3 separate regions of the Homo sapiens genome follow, and all the other regions are linked to region 1. The links are contacts of gene promoters, found by promoter capture Hi-C in blood cells and fetal thymus (Javierre and others, 2016). All regions are on one chromosome and are shown on one strand. Each heading gives the region's core, a stretch centred on a gene start or on the middle of the fragment in contact. The rest is flanking DNA. Distances are from core to core; before and after follow the strand shown. Region 1 holds the start of FSIP2 (fibrous sheath interacting protein 2). Region 2 has its middle 110 kb from the start of NUP35. Region 3 has its middle 130 kb from the start of NUP35.

Evidence for each region. The method cuts DNA at HindIII sites, captures the fragments that hold promoters and counts their contacts. A CHiCAGO score of 5 or more calls a contact.
Region 2: a contact is called between a fragment that was not itself captured here and the fragment with the promoter of FSIP2 in region 1, in 3 of 17 cell types (M1 macrophages, M0 macrophages and M2 macrophages). The highest score is 14.9, in M1 macrophages.
Region 3: a fragment that was not itself captured here is called in contact with the fragment with the promoter of FSIP2 in region 1 in 3 of 17 cell types (M0 macrophages, M2 macrophages and M1 macrophages); the score reaches 12.9 in M0 macrophages.

Annotation. Positions count from the first base shown.
Region 1 is chr2:185,737,314-185,740,426 of GRCh38, forward strand. It overlaps FSIP2 (fibrous sheath interacting protein 2), which reads left to right and starts at 1,491. Exons shown (of 23, transcript NM_173651.4): 1 at 1,491-1,680; 2 at 2,033-2,158. The coding sequence starts at 1,582. It overlaps FSIP2-AS2 (FSIP2 antisense RNA 2), which reads right to left. Exons shown (of 3, transcript NR_110217.1): 1 at 3,066-3,113. RefSeq lists a silencer at 1,623-1,892. The HindIII fragment of the contact is 3,199 bases long and covers 1,263-3,113 here.
Region 2 is chr2:183,237,557-183,240,669 of GRCh38, forward strand. No RefSeq gene overlaps it. Among named protein-coding and RNA genes, the nearest start is that of NUP35, 110 kb to the left of the region's middle. The HindIII fragment of the contact is 4,724 bases long and covers 1-3,113 here.
Region 3 is chr2:183,256,782-183,259,894 of GRCh38, forward strand. No RefSeq gene overlaps it. Among named protein-coding and RNA genes, the nearest start is that of NUP35, 130 kb to the left of the region's middle. The HindIII fragment of the contact is 2,988 bases long and covers 141-3,113 here.

The DNA of each region.
Region 1 (3,113 bases), core at 241-2,740:
ACACACTTTGCGCTGAGGGCAGTTGGGAGTTTAAAGTGAGGAAGAGAAATGGTCAGTTTGCCATCAAAGATCAAATTGATACAAGATGGATTTTTGGGGTAGATGGTGGCAGGGAGATGTTATAAGGCTGTGGCAATGGTGCAAACAAACAAACAAACAAAAAATGATTAGCGGCTTAACCGGGAGAGTAAAGTAGGAGTAGATAGAATCGGGCAAATTAATTTTAGTGATAAAATTAGTGGGACTTGGGGACCAACTAAACATGGGAGATAAGGGGAAAAAGAAGTATCTAGAAGCATTCCTTAGTTTCTGGCTTGGGTAGACTTTGGTATTGTCACTGAGATAGGAAATGCAGGAAGAAGCCTTTGTTTTTTTTTCCTGTTTTGGTGAAAGTTGTGTGTTGAGATTTGAGTAGATTGAATTTAAGACAATTGTGGGATATCCATATGGAAGCTGGCAATAGACTATATCCCAAGCTTAGATTTCAAATTTAAGAGTCCTAAGCACATGTGTGGAATTACAACAAAGAGAGCAGAGTGCACTGATTAAGAAAACAGCCTCAGGAGCCACCATTTAACAGCAATTGTCAGTCTTCCTCAATCTTTGAAAAATAAAGAGTAATTATTGATAAGGCTACTAAAATAAATAAATGTTTAAAAGGGTGTTTGGCACAGTATATGGAAGTTAGTAGATTCTGAAGAAATGGTAACTGTTATTACTAGTCGGGCCAGAAATAAAAGAGAACAGCAGTGGACCAAAGAAAGTATGAAGTTAAGTCTAAACAACAGGTGGGTTAGACACATACTGTCTCTGCCCTCAGAATACTCCCAGTCTAGTTAGCTTCTTACAGTCAGGGGCCATATTTTACTCACGGCTGTGTCCTGCCCAGTGCTTAGCTCAATGACTGGCCCAGAAGCGTCAAGCACTTTATAAATTTCGGCTGGATGGTTGAGGAGAAAGAGGGAAATAGGATCAAGCTGCAGGAGCAGAGAGGAGGCAGTGGGAGAGTGGTAAAGGGCGCTAGAAAGGAGAAGGAAACCTAGGGGACAGAAGAGGCAGGAGGAAGGCAATGAGCCCCTTAGGAAGCCAACGCGTCTGCCTTGTGGACCTGGTGTGGGAAGAAGCTGTGGGAGCCTGGGGATGGGGTGTGGTCTATATGGGGGAAGATGTAGAATGGGCAAAAACAATCACTCGGGAATTTTTATTGAACGGAACAGGGCTCCTTGGAAGCCAGGGGAAATTAACCAGTTACCCACCAACAAAGCTTATACGTTTTCGTTAGGATTGGCTAAGGCGTGATGGTTTCAGAGAAAGATGAAGTTTCAACTGTGGTCCTCTCAGATCAGGCCTCTCGGACCGATTTTCCCAGCTCTGCGGGCGCTCTACGCGCTGGCGCGAGCCGCCCCTCAGGAGGCCACCGCCCTTCTGGGGCCGCTACCATTGGAAGCCTGGAACGCGGGGGGCGGGGCTGAGGTCGTTGGGCTCTGGCCATTCCTGGTCAGGTCCGGACAGAGGGACAACGGGGTGCTAGAGAAGGAGAGCGGGGCGGGTGAGGAAGGGGCTGAGGGGGCTGTGCCGGCCATGGAGCTGTACCTCGGCGCCTGCTCCAAGCCTGCCAAAGTCGCCGTCACCAAGACGGTCGCCAGCGTCCTGGCCGCGGACACCCAGCAGTGCAGAGACGTGAGTGGCCGCAAGCTGGGCGGCGTCGCCCTCTGGCGGCCGCAGGCCTGCTGGGGAGCGGGGCAGGGATCGCCACACACGGGTCGCGAGGCTCCCAACTGTCCCCCGTCAGGAGGCTGCCCTCTTGCGGCGCCCGGGGGCGGTGGCGGTGGCTCGGACTGTACCGGCCGCAACTGGCAGGCGCGGGACGCCAGGAGAGCTGGTGACCAGGGAAAACGGGAGGACTTCAGGATGCCCCGAACCCTGATTGTATAATTCTTCGGAGTCTTTGGTTGCAATGGAAGTAGATTGGTCTAAACTAAACTAATACTGCCTAAAAGGAAAGACAAAACTCTCCAATTGTGTCTGACAGGGCGTGCACAAAACCCACTTTGCAGGGGTTGGACCGGCTCAGCTACTGGACCTACCTCTCGGGGTCAAGCTGCCTGTGATCCCAGGAAGCAATGCTGTATTCTATACTACGAATTTCGGTGAAAAGGTGAACAAGTTTTTATCGTCTTTCTTTCCTTTACCCTTTACTACTTGCTGTTTAACTCAAAGGCTGCATCATACAAAATTCATTAAAGGAATTTGCATCAACATTTACAGGAAAAAGAAAATCCCACATCTGACCGAAGGTATTGTTTAGAATGCATATGAAGCACTTTCATCTTAATGGTTTGGACATAATCATATTCCAGAAAGTTTAGATTCTTAGTCCTTAATTAACAATTCACGGTACCATATTAATATTCCTTATAATAAAACTTCATATATACTTATATAGTAAGATTTGATGTACTTAGAAACATGTTTAGAAGCTGAAAGGTTATTAGTGATAGCTGCCATTTAATGATATGTTACGATTTTAACTGACAGTATCTTGGACCAAACTCTCTTCACGGGAAACATTATTTTGTTTTGAGTTGAATTCTATTTTACACATAAAGAAAAAAAAAAGAACTGAAACAGTGGGACTTAAAATGAGTTAATATGTTTAGTACTTTAACCTTACTTTAATGAAAGAAAGCCCTGCCTCAATGAGGAAGAGACTCCATAATTTGCCCCAGCCTTTCCATCCAGCATTGTCTCCAACCAGAGAGGCTCAGCTTCTTCAAGTTGAGTCTTTCACACCTACCCATAAATACCATGCTAATACTTCAGTATTTTGTCAACTTTGCCCCCAAACCTGGCATACCTTGTCTTCTTCTCCCCAGTCTATGAATCTGAGCTATCAAGATTCTCTGAACTGTGATAGCCCCCCCGTTAGCTTATTTTTGCTTAGAGTTCACGTTGCCCTTGATTTGTGTGATCTCACTTACACAAACCATAGTTAATCATACTGGATTATAGTGTGTACTTCCCTTAAGCCTTTTCATGTTTTTAGTCCTTAACACCACACCTACCCCCAAACCTCCCCAGCCTTTGACTAAGTAGTCAATGCTGAAGGAGGT
Region 2 (3,113 bases), core at 187-2,686, 2.5 Mb before region 1:
CCATTTTTCTACTTGCTAGTGTTTTCCTGTGTGTGGTAATGTATAATTATCACTAGACGCATGTATGGTGATTTCAGCTGAGGCATGGATAAAATAGGACAAATTAATAGAAATGTATTTATTTTAATGTGTATTAGTAAAAATAATATAACTAACACATCAGAGTTTTGATCCCAAGAATATTACTGTATAGAAAAAGGCCAAATTCAATGTAAAGAAAAAGATTAAGTAAATAATGAGACAAATGTTATTAGGATACATCAAACACTGTAGAAGTTGAACCTGAATGACAAAGGTTTGAAAACACAACTTTGTCAGATTTCCTGGAATGGGCAAGGGGTGTCAGTACCTTTTCTACCTTTTTTCTTACTTCCTTTCATGTAGAAGCAAGTACTTAATTTCTTTTTAAAAATTAATTTTTATTTTTAAATTGTTAGTTGATGAAATTATATATATATATATTTATGGTGTACAACATAATGTTTTGTGGTTTTTTTTGAGACAAGATCTTGCTTTGTTACCCAGCGCTGGAATACAGTGAGGCAAATACTGTTCAATGCAGCCTTGACCTTCTGGGCTCAAGTGATCCTTCCATCTCAGCCTCCCAAGTAGCTAGGGCTACAGGCATGCACCACCATGCCTGGCTAATTTTTAATTTTTTATGTAGAGACAGGGTTTCTCCATGTTGCACAGACTGGTCTTGAACTCCTAGCGCAAGTGATCCACCTGCCTCGGCCTCCCAACGTGCTGGGATTATAGGCATGAGCCACCACGCACAGCTCAGAATGTTTTAATATATGTGTACATTGTGGAATGGATAAAAGAAGCTAATTAACAGCTAATTACTTCACATACGTAACCTTGTTTTGTGGTGGGAACATTTAAAATCTATTCTCTTGACATTTTCAAGTATACCATACGTTGTTATTAACTATTGTTACCATGTTGTACAATATATCTCCTGAATTTATTCCTCCTGTCTAACTGAAATTTTTAAACCTTTGACCAAAATCTCTTCAATCCGCACTCCCCATTCCCATTCCCTGTTTTTTTGTTAAAAATTTTTTAAACAACATATAACAGCGCTATAGCTTCTTATTTAGGCTTTGCATTTAATTAGCTGTTAGACTATTCTCTGCTTCTATGACTTAGGCTTTTTCAGATTCCACATTTAAATAAGATAATGCATTAGTTGTCTTTTGACTGGTTTATTTCACTCAATATAATGTCCTCTAGGTCCATCCATATTGTCTTAAATGGCAGGGTTTCCTTCCTTTTAAAGGCTGAATAGTATTCCATTGTGTTTCTTTTATCCATTGATTCACTGATGGACAGTTAGTTTGATTAGATATCTTGGCTATTGTGAATAATGCTGCAATGAACATGGGAGTGCAAACATCTCTTTGACATACTGATTTTTATCTCCTTAGGATGTATACCCAATAGTGAGCATGCCGGATCATATGGTAGTTCTGTTTTTAATTTTTTGAGGAATCTCTATACTGTTTTCCATAATGACTCTATTAATTTACATTTCTACCAAGTGGCAAGTACTTAGTTTCTTTATGTAGATTATTCCAGTTTGAAAATATTCTTAGCTGGGCTCGGTGGCGGGCGCCTGTGGTCCCAGCTACTCGGGAGGCTGAGGCAGGAGAAGGGCGTGAACCCGGGAGGCGGAGCCTGCAGTGAACCGAGATCGCACCACTGCACTCCAGCCTGGGCGACAGAGCGAGACTCCGTCTCAAAAAAAAAAAAAAAAAAAAAAAAAAGAAAAAAGAAAAAGAAAAAGAGAAAGAAAATATTCTTTAAATTTCCAGCTGCTTTCACTAATGTTCGGCAGATCTGAGGGCTCTTTTTCATTCTACTTGGAGGACTCAACTAGTTATTCTCAACATCTTTTCAAGCACCTTTTGCTGTTCCTTTGTTTTTATTTGTTAATCATGATACTGTAATTGTATTTGCCTTCCAATCAAGAATTGTCAAGTGTTCTATGGGAAAGTTATTCCAGTCACTGAAAAATTTTTTAACAACATATAACAGAGCTATAGCTTATTTGGGCTTTGCATTTAATTGACTGTTAGACTGGACATAGGCAGTTCTGCTATTGGTAAAACGAAACAGGTAATCTCTCTAGAGTTGCTTCTAGCTCTAAGAAAACCTCTCCCAAAACAAAAAACAAACTGTGTTCCTCGATTTCTGATCTCTGTGTTCAAATATGTTATGAGATTTAAAGTTGTGCTGCACTGTACTTTATGGTCAGCCTCACTAAGCTACTTAGCGTTCTCAGAAGTCACTATGTTCTATGCAACTTCAGTTTGCTTCATTTCCCTCAGTTTGTGAATATTAGACTGAACTCCCATAAAGAGAAAGCATTGGTTTTACACGTGAGATATTAAATAAGCATGCATAATCACCCTGTCCATTCTTTGGTATGAGAGGCTCACTCTTAAACTCTGATATAAATAGTTGTCGGGGTTATAAGCACCTCCCAATGTCTATACTTACAGCCCTGAATAAAATGTGGATATGTGATTTTTTGTGTTATTCAGTGTGACTTTTTGTGTTCAGAGAAGACTATTCAGAGTTTACTTTTAGTTTAAAAAATTAGTAATACCTGGTTCTTAGCCTCTTAAGTTTAGCTTCCATATCTTATTATTTTGTTTATAAGTCTAGAAAAGGTTACATATATTTAAAGACCCTTTGAATAATATTTAGTTCAATTTAAACATATTTATTTCCAAGTGTTTTTATATATTTGATATACTTTATTTCCTTTAAAAATAATTCTTTGACTTAATAAAGTCTTCCAAAGCACTGTTTTTTAAAAACTCTCTAATTAAACTTAAAAATATGGTAAACATATATGTTCAATGCTTCGTATAAAGCATTGACTGAAAATTATTAATCTAAGTCAATCATTCAGTTATACATTTTAAATTAGAATCATGAGGCTGTCACTCTAATAGGCCATTTTTAAACAAGCACAGAAAATGGCAAATATGTTTAGACTACTTTCTAACATAAAAATATTATTATTATGGTTTTGATTTTCTTAAATACCTTTCTATACTTTTAAATCTTCTTGGAGCTGAAAAATGTGAACTCCTTAAGTC
Region 3 (3,113 bases), core at 385-2,884, 2.5 Mb before region 1:
TTGCAATTGAATTCCTACAAGCATGAAACTTCCTTCACAAATTAAAGCAGAGATGGTGAGTTAACTGCAGGGCTTTTCTCTCAATTTCACCCAACAATATTATTTAAATGTTATTGATTTTAAGATGATAGAGGCTTATAAGCTTTCACAATATAAGCTGTTTTTGTTTGTAAACAGCAGTGGTGGCCATTTTTGGCCCAATGAAAAAAGATAAGCCTAGGCAGTAGCACTTGACTTTAGGATCATTGGATTTATTTCAAGTTACTTTAAATTACTATTTAATAAAATAGAACCAGTGGGTTACTCATTTCCTCATTAATAACACTGATAATTTTCAAAATTAGTTCATATTTTGTACTAAAAACTTACCATAACTTAATATAAAGCCAGCGATTTTGAACCATGTCTGAGGAGGTTCTCTTCCTGAATACTTCCTTATAAAGTTGTTTCACCTGCAGCATTGACGCTACGGATCACAGTAGAGTAAGTTTTCAGTTTATTTCTTTAATCAATAGATGAGATAACTGCTGTAAACAGTTGTGTTAGGGAAATAATTTAACATGATTTGAGTTTGTGTTCTCAAATCTATTGATTAACAGAACTAGGGCATGGGCCCTATGCTAAAGAAAACTTGCAAATCTCCTGCTGGACATTTTTCTTTAAAATGTTAGGCGCACCCACTAAAGGACTAAAGACCATAAAAAAATAGCTAACAAAAAGGTTTATTTCAAAGTATATTGTTCACTTTTAGCCATTCATTTAGAGTCTATATTTACTATAAGCATTTAAAATTATCATTATGCTATTTTCTTTTAATTTAATGGTTTGATGTTAGTGTATGTAAGGTAGCTTTTAATGAGATAAATGACTGGGGGCTGTGAGGCCGGGCGCGGTGGCTCACCCCTGTAATCCCAGCACTTTGGGAGGCCGAGGAGGGCGGATCACGAGGTCAGGAGATCGAGACCATCCTGGCTAACATGGTGAAACCCTGTCTCTACTAAGAATACAAAAAAAAAAATTAGCCGGCCGTGGTGGCGGGCGCCTGTAGTCCCAGCTACTCCGGAGGCTGAGGCAGGAGAATGGCGTGAACCCGGGAGGCAGAGCCTGCAGTGAGCCGAGATCGCGCCACTGCACTCCAGCCTGGGCGACAGAGCGAGACTCCGTCTCAAAACAAAACAAACAAACAAAACAAACAAACAAACAAAAAAAGAACTGGGGGCTGTGTTAGTCAATACGCTCTTGACTTACAATGGCAAAAATCTACTTAAAATAGTTTGGGTGATCCCGGGAATATGGCAGCAGTGAAGGCGTTGTTGTGTCTCCAAATGCCTACATAAAAGTAGACAGCTAGATAGCAACACTAAAAACCTATTGACAATATTTACCACAAAACCGGGAGACAGGCTATCCCCACAAACCAAAGACAGTATATGAAGACAAACCACTTGACCCAAGACCTGTACAGTGAGACAGAGCAGAGGAATCAGTGGAGAAGAGGAGAACCAAATAGTCACAGAAGTTCACCATAAAGTGAGCAGACCAATTTGAGAACAGCAATGAATACTGAGAGGGTTTTGTTCAATCTGGTATTGGGTGAGTGCAAGGGAATGACAGTGTGTGCTGAAGGATCTGGAATCGTTTAGCTTCTAGATTCACCACTGAAACAGACTTGCAAGGATTCTTTTCCAGGACAGTGCCCCACTCTAAGATGAAACAGCTTGGAATAGAGTCAGAGCAAGTCAAGCAAAATAGAGATAACTGAGACTAGAAAAGAGAAGTTTGAGAAAAGATTGAGTTAAAACAACAACAATAAAAACTCTGTAGCTTTGAATTTGAATTCGAAGTGTCAGCATGAACTCATGAATATGGAGAGAAAGACTGAGATGAATTCTAGAAACAATGACCAGCTCAGTAGTAATGTGTATTCCTAATGTCAAATATGTCGTCTTGAAACCAGGGTTTCTTTGGAGAAATTGTCTGCTTACAACATGAGACTGAACCACAATAGCTGCTTGTATCACAATTGAAAGAGGCCACTAGACATTATATTTCACTAAAGATCCATACCACCTGTGGTCTTGCTAAAGGCATTGAACCTGAGTCTGATCAAGCCTTTCACTCTAGCTGCCAATTTGCTGGAAATTGGAAACAGAAGACAGAAGACAGAGTACAGAGGAACATGCTGAACTGTGTCATGAATATGTAATTGGCAAACTTCACTGGGAAAGCAGACAGGTCGAATACAGATCAAATGTAAAGAAAGAGGGTGGGGAGAACACATAGATGAAAGGGATTTAAATGATAATAAAATTTAATGGACAACAATAAACTATAGTGGCTTGGGATGCACATTTGGGTGGCAAAACTATAAAGAAATGAGGAAATTATTGCTATAAAAGTCAAGATAGTGATTACTTTTTTGAGATAGAGGAAGGGCACATAGAGGGGTGATGCAGTTTTGCTGTGTCCCCACCCAAATCTCATCTTGAATTGTAGCTCCCATAATTCCCACATGTGGGAAGGACCCAGTGGGTGATAATTGAATCATGGGGGTAGTTTCCCCCATACTGTTCTCCTGGTAGTGAATAAGTCTCTTGAGATCTGATGGTTTTATAAGAGTTTTCTGCTTTCACTTGGCTCTCATTGTCTCTCGTCTGCTACCATGTAAGACAAACTTTTCTCCTTCCACCATGATTGTGAGGCCTCTCCAGCCATGTGGAACAGTGAGTCCATTAAACCTATTTTTCTTTACAAATTGGCCAGTCTCGGGTGTGTTTTTATTAGAGTGAAAACAGACTAATACAAGGGGCTTCTGAGACAATTGGCAAATTTTTATTTCTTGACTTCGCTGGTGATTTCAAGAGTGGTATTTTGTGTGACTCTCTGTATCTGTTGTATTTTAAAATAAAAGGTTAAGAGTTAAGCAAAAAAGGGATTTTTTTATGTACTATATATCCAAATATTCCAGGAGTAGGTCATAGAATTGTCTGAATTCCGGGGTTCAAATGATCACACTAGGATGAAGTCTTTTTCTCATAATTGTTTGACTCTCTCCATTGACCTTCCCCACATTATCTTCACTTTTAGTCATTCTCTATCTGTTGGGATGGTGG